Regions from separate parts of the Homo sapiens genome. Here region 2 is linked to region 1. The links are contacts of gene promoters, found by promoter capture Hi-C in human tissues and cell types (Jung and others, 2019). All regions are on one chromosome and are shown on one strand. The core of a region is centred on a gene start or on the middle of the fragment in contact, and the rest is flanking DNA. Distances in the headings are between cores, read along the strand shown.

What was found. Contacts are between HindIII fragments. The study calls those that stand out against the background at their distance.
Region 2: a fragment that was not itself captured here is called in contact with the fragment with the promoter of CNTLN in region 1 in 1 of the 25 tissues and cell types used here (lymphoblastoid cells).

What each region holds. Positions count from the first base shown.
Region 1 is chr9:17,133,453-17,136,803 of GRCh38, forward strand. It overlaps CNTLN (centlein), which reads left to right and starts at 1,588. Exons shown (of 26, transcript NM_017738.4): 1 at 1,588-1,973. The coding sequence starts at 1,614. RefSeq lists an enhancer at 1,869-2,432. The HindIII fragment of the contact is 19,584 bases long and covers 1-3,351 here.
Region 2 is chr9:18,304,083-18,307,433 of GRCh38, forward strand. It overlaps a transcript of ADAMTSL1 not described here. Among named protein-coding and RNA genes, the nearest start is that of ADAMTSL1, 170 kb to the right of the region's middle. The HindIII fragment of the contact is 4,237 bases long and covers 1-3,351 here.

The DNA of each region.
Region 1 (3,351 bases), core at 338-2,837:
ACACGTAACTTATGTGGTTAGACTTCCCAGTCTTAAGTCTAGTGAAATCTCACAGACTATCAAGACCAAATGTTGTATTTCAAGTCACAGGTGTGGAGACAGGGTAGCGATCAAAGTACAGGTTTTCAGAGTTAAGTGGAATTCAGTGAATTCAAAGCCTAGCTTTTCTGATACCAGACATGGCACTTCAGAGAAGTTACAGTAACCTTGCAAGTCTGTTTCCTCACTAGTAAAAATGGAGATATATAATAATCTAATTGAAGGTGACATATGTATTAAGTGAGTTCATATATGAAAAGTGCTTAGCACTGGACTCAGCATATGGTAAATGTTCAGTAGGTTAGCTAGTTCTAAGACAGGCTTATAAACATACTTTTTCTAATGTACTCTTTAATAAGTTTTTGTGAGGAATTCACCTTCAGTTTGAAAGAAGTCCACTTATCTTGGTTGCCTTGGCAGGATTCTAATTGGGAGGGTGTCTTTTGGCATCCTGACTAGATTCTCATGCAGAGATGGTGATATTTTGGTTAAATGAAGTTAACAGTAAAGTGGTCATCTCTCTACTTCTGCTCTCAACCCCCATCTCAGCTTTCCCCAAGTATTCTGGAACCCTTTCTGAAGAAGAGGGCAGTTCTAACTTTCAGGGATGTTCTGGTGCCAGCTCAATATGCATCTCATTAATCTTATCAATAGTAACAAAGTATTTGAAGGGCAAAGAAAGATACGATTACTACCTATTTGAAGTTTATAAAGAAAGCCAGAAGAAAAAGAAAAAAAAGAGAACAAAAGATAAAGTAGGTCTTGTTTCTTCATCCACGCTCCAAATTACTGATTTCAAACTGCTCCAAGGACCCAAACTGTTCAGCAATGTGGGCTACACTTCCTCTGATATCCAGCCAACGCATAAAGAAGCTGACATAAAAACTCAAAGGAAATCATGACTCCTGCAAAACAAAAGACAAAGGGTGTACAAAGGATCATCATTCAAGTTGGAAACCTGCTTGATAGTCCCAGATCAGCACAAGGCTTTCCACATCTCCTTGACATTAGTCAGCTGGATGTCAGCTGTACTAAAGCAGTTTTGCCAAGGGGTGTGAAGAAAACACTTAAGTGTAAAACGTATTCCTTGATCCTCAAGGAGCTTACAACAGGGCTGGGGAGATTAGCCGTGTAACTGACACTCCAGGGCGGTCAATGAAACGTGTCACACGAGTTGGCAGGGGCCTTGAAGGAGAGGGATTTCACAGTTAAGGATCATTTGGGGCTGGGGGCTTGTCAAGGAAGGCTTTAAGAGGTGGGATGTAAGTGGCAGGCAGGGCTTTAGGTGGGCGGGAAATCCAGGCGATCCTGGCCAAGGACTCAGGCACAGGACGCTGGGATGGCCTGCCCGGCGGACCGGCCTTACCCTTTCGGGCCACGGCGCGTGCGTACCCCAAGGCTCGCGCTGGGCGCATTGCCCGCGGGAAGCCGGCCAGGACCAGAGAACACGGGACACCGCGGGCCAAGGCGGGAAAAGCCTCGCGCATGCGCGGTTCGGCGTTCCGGGCTCGCCGGGTTGGGGAAAGGGAGGTGGAGTTTCCAACAGGGAACTTGACCCGTTAGCAGCCGCAGCCATGGCGGCGCGTTCGCCTCCCTCACCGCACCCTTCGCCCCCAGCGCGACAGCTGGGCCCCAGGTCCCCACGTGTTGGGCGGGGAGCTGAAGTACACGCAATGCGCAGCGAGGCCTCGGGTTTTGCCGGCGCAGCGCGGGAGGTGGTCGCGGACGAAAGTGATAAAATCTGGGTGGGTGAAGAAGGGTCAGGGGGCCGGCGAGGGCCTGGGGGGGCAGCTCCGGCTCATGCTCCCCTCCTCAGCGCGCCCATGGGGTCCAGACGGCTAGAGGGCATCTCGGTAGAGGAGGCGATGGTGACCCGGACGCAGCTGCTGGAGGAAGAGCTGAGCAGCCTAAAGGAGGAGTTGGCCCTGTGTCAGGTATCGAGGAGTCTCGCAGTCCCCCTTTCCCCACCACAGCGGGGCCGGGACCCGTGGGGAGGCGCGCCTTTCTCCCTCTGCCTTGGGACCTACCCCGCCCAGCGACGCTCCCTGGCAGATGCACACCCTGCTTCGCTCGCGGCCGGGGGCTGGAGGGACGCGGCTGCGCCCGGCTCCCCAAACCCGGGCCCCTGCCCCTTTCCGAACTGCGGCCAGACAGGCTTCGCCTCCGCGCCCGGGTTTGGTTTTGGTCACTTGGATACTCGCAGTCGCATCCTCTCCGCTTCCCCCCCAAGCCCAAGTTCTTGGTGGTGACGGTAGCTGATACCTGCCGGGGGCCCAGGAGTGACATGCAGTCCACTAGTTGAAATGAACAGGAAAGTGTAAACACTTCGGTTAGAGTAAAATCCATCGATGAAGGAGCCTGTTTTTAAAATTTCAAACCCACACTTGGCTTTGTTTTTACCCAGTCAAACTTAAGTTGTAAACACAGACGAGTAACGTTTAGAAAGTCTCAGAGCCGGGAACTTAACAATAGATGATGCTTGGTACTTGTTTATTAACCAGCTATGGTAATTCCGCGGTCCTTGAGTGAGAAATCACATTTTCATGTGATCTTGCCAGTGAAAAACATTTGCTAAATCAATTGCATTAAAATTACTTTCCTGTTTGTAGAGTTTTTGTAAGGATGGACTTGACTATACTCATGTTCAAAGAGATTGAATTTTCCTTTAGTTTTGCATCCTTACCATCATCTCTTTTGATTTTACCAGAACCTTTAGATAGGGTTGGGAGATTGGATGTGGGAAACTCACTGAACAGTAGATCTTTAAGTCACTCTGTCTTCAACTTAGAAACCAATTAGGAGCTGCTGAACATCAAAGTAACTTTGTGAACAGTATCATCAGTTTAATAAAACAGTTCATGAAATTCATTCTCTGTCGCCCAGGCTGGAGTGCAGTGGTGCAGTCTCAGCTCACTGCAAGCTCCGCCTCCCGGGTTCACGCCATTCTCCAGCCTCAGCCTCCCGAATAGCTGGGACTACAGGTGTCCGCCACCACGCCTGGCTAATTTTTTGTATTTTTAGTAGAGATGGGGTTTCACCGTGTTAGCCAGGACAGTCTCGATCTCCTGACCTCGTGGTCCGCCAGCCTTGGCCTTCCAAAGTGCTGGGATTACAGAAATTCATTCTCTCATAGTTTGTTCTGTTGGATTCTTTTGCCCATTTTATAGGTCCTTGCTGACTGAGTGAAGGGTGTAAAAATGGGACCATCTTCAAATTGAATGTGCCTTTGGTTAAACAAGGTTGGGACATTTAATATGGTGCCCTCTTTTCGTTTTACCATTTTTCTGTTCTTCGTTGGATAAGGAGCAAAGG
Region 2 (3,351 bases), core at 586-3,085, 1.2 Mb after region 1:
TATTTTTGTTTCCCTGTCTAGATGTCCTCTATGTGTCTGTCACTGTTATAAAACAGTGGCTTTCACTTTTTTTTTTCTGTTACAGAACACTTTGTTCAAACTCATTCTCACATAGAACCCAATTTGTTTGGAAAGCAACATGAACCTGGAATCTTTGAAGTGACGGTGGCAAGAAGGGGGTCTAGAGCTTGGCCCACTTCTTTCACTCCTGCCCCTACCCTCAACATGCCCTGAGGGGCCTCAAGGAATAGAGTTTTGAAAAAAAAAATACTTTTTATAAAAGAAAACCTTGTGAGCTCCTGGGTGTCGGAAATGTTTATTTTAATTCCACTGTACTGTGCCTAGTGTTATCATGTGATATTAAAATAGCAAAACCTGGTTTTGCTATTTTGCAAAACCAAATTAAAATTTGGAATCAATAATTAGTGGAGCAAAGGATTTTCTCAAAAACTCACACTTAAAAACATATATAAGCGTGTTATTTACCTACACTGAGGAAATAAACTACATCCAAACACATTTGGTATTGCTGATCTAGACAAGTTTGGTAGCACAAGGGCCTAAACTTTTTTTTTTTTTAGGACTATGCTTTAGTATGTTCATTATAAAACTTCCTCTCTAATGAATAGTAAGATTCTGAAAAAAATAGTATCTTTGTTACTTGTATGGAGTTGAGGCATATTCCATAACTCATATTTGCATTAATTCAAAATGACTTTCTCATGGGTCTAAATTAGGAAAGTTTTTACTATAAACTATTTTTATAAGAAATAGAAAAATGTTTCTGTTTTATTCTAAGAAAATATGTACTTAAACAGTGTACGTTCCTGGGCAAGATGGCTGAATAGGAACAGCTCCGATCTGCAGCTCCCAGCGTGATCTACACAGAAGGCAGGTGATTTCTGCATTTCCAGCTGAGGTACCAGGTGCATCTCATTGGGCCTGGTTAGACAGTGGGTGCAGCCCATGGATGGGGAGCTGAAGCAGGGTGGGGCATTGCCTCACCGGGAAAGTACAAGTGGTCAGGAACTCCCTCTCCTAGACAAGGGAAGCCGTGAGGGACTGTGCCATGAGCAACACTGCACTCTGGCCCAGATACTATGCTTTTCCCATGGTCTTCACAACCTACAGACCAGGAGATTCCCTTGGCTGCCTACGCCACCAGGGTCCTGGGTTTCAAGCACAAAACTGGGCGGCTGTTTGAGCAGCCACCAAGCTAGCTGCAGGAGATTTTTTTCATTCCCCAGTGGCACCTGGAAGACCAGTGAGACAGAATCGTTCACTCTCCTAGAAAGGGGGCTGAAGCCAGGCAGCTAAGTGGTCTAGCTCAGGGGATCCGACCCCCACAGAGCCCAGCAAGCTAAGATCCACTGGCTTGAAATTCTCGCTGCCAGCACAGCAGTCTGAAGTCTATCTGGGATGCTCAAGCTTGGTGGGGGGAGGGGCATCCGCCATTACTGAGGCTTGAGTAGGCGGTTTTCCCCTCACAGTGTAAACAAAGCCGCAGGGAAGTTCAGACTGGGCAGAGCCCACTGCAGCTCAGCAAAGCCACTGTAGCCAGACTACCTGTCTAGATTCCTCCTCTCTGGTAAAGGCATCTCTGAAAGAAATGCAGCAGCCGCAGTCAGGGGCTTATAGAGCAAACTCCCATCTCCTTGGGACACAGCACTTGGGGGATGGGGTGGTTGTGGGTGCAGCTTCAGCAGACTTGAACGTTCCTGCCTGTTGGCCTTGAAGAGAGCAGTGGATCACGCAGCACAGCACTCAAGCTCTACTAAGAGACAGACTGCCTCCTCAAGTGGGTCCCTGACCTCCATGACTCCTGACTGAGAGACACCTCCCAGCAGGGCTCAATAGACACCTCATACAGGAGAGCTCCAGCTGGCATCTGGCAGGTGCCCCTCTGGGACAAAGCTTCCAGAGGAAGGAACAGGCAGCAATTTTTACTGTTCTGTAGCCTCCACTGGTGATACCCAGGCAAACAGGGCATGGAGTATCCAGCAGACCTGCAGCAGAGGGGCCTGACTGTTAGGAAAACTAACAAACAGAAAGGAATAGCGTCAACATCAACAAAAAAGACATCCACACATAAACCACATCCGAAGATCACCAACATCAAAGACCAAAGGAAGATAAATACACGAAGATGAGGAAAACCCAGCACAAAAAGGCTGAGTATTCCAAAAATCAGAATGCTTCTTCTCCTCCAAAGGATCACAACTCCTCACCAGCAAGGGAACAAAACTGGATGGAGAATGAGTTTGACGAATTGACAGAAATAGGCTTCAGAAAGTGGATAATAACAAACTCCTCCAAGCAAAAGGAGCGTATTCTAACCCAATGCAAGGAAGCTAAGAACTTTGAAAAAAGGTTAGAGAAATTGCTAACTAGAATAACCAGTTTAGAGAAGAACAGAAATGAATGATGGAGCTGAAAAACACAGCACGAGAACTCATGAAGAATACACAAGTATCAATAGCTTAATTGATGAAGCAGAAGAAAGGATATCAGAGATTGAAGATCAACTTGATGAAATAGACCATGAAGACAAGATTAGAGAAAAAAAGAATGAAAAGGAACAAACAAAGCCTCCAAGAAATATGGGACTATGTGAAAAGACCAAATCTACGTTTGATTGGTGTACCTGAAAGTGATGGGGAGAATGGAACCAAGTTGGAAAACACTCTTCAGTATATTATCCAGGAGAACTTCCCCAACCTAGCAAGACAGGCCAACATTCAAATTCAGGAAATACAGAAAACCTCACAAAGATACTCCTCAAGAAGAGCAAACCCAAGACACATAATTGTCAAATTCACCAAGGTTGAAATGAAGGAAAAAATGTTAAGGGCAGGAAGAGAGAAAGGTTGGGTTACCCACAAAGGGAAGCCCACCAGACTAACAGTGGATCTCTCTGCAGAAACCCTACAAGCCAGAATAGAGTGGGGGCCAATATTCAACATTCGTAAAGAAAAGAATTTTCAACCCAGAATTTCATATCCAGCCAAACTAAGCTTCATAAGCGAAGGGGAAATAAAATCCTTTACAGACAAGCAAATGCTGAGAGATTTTTTCACCACCAGGCCTGCTTTACAAAAGCTCCTGAAGGAAGCTCTAAATATGAAAAGAAAAAAAATAGTACCAGCCACTGCAAAAACATACCAAATTGTAAAGACCGTTGATAGTATGAAGAAACTGCATCAACTAACAGGCAAAATAACCAGCTACCATCATAATGACAGGGTCAAATTCACACATAACAATATTAGCCTTCCATGTAAATGGGTTAAATGCCCCAATTAAGACACAGACTGGAAAATTGGATAAAGGGTCAAGACCCATCGGTGTGCC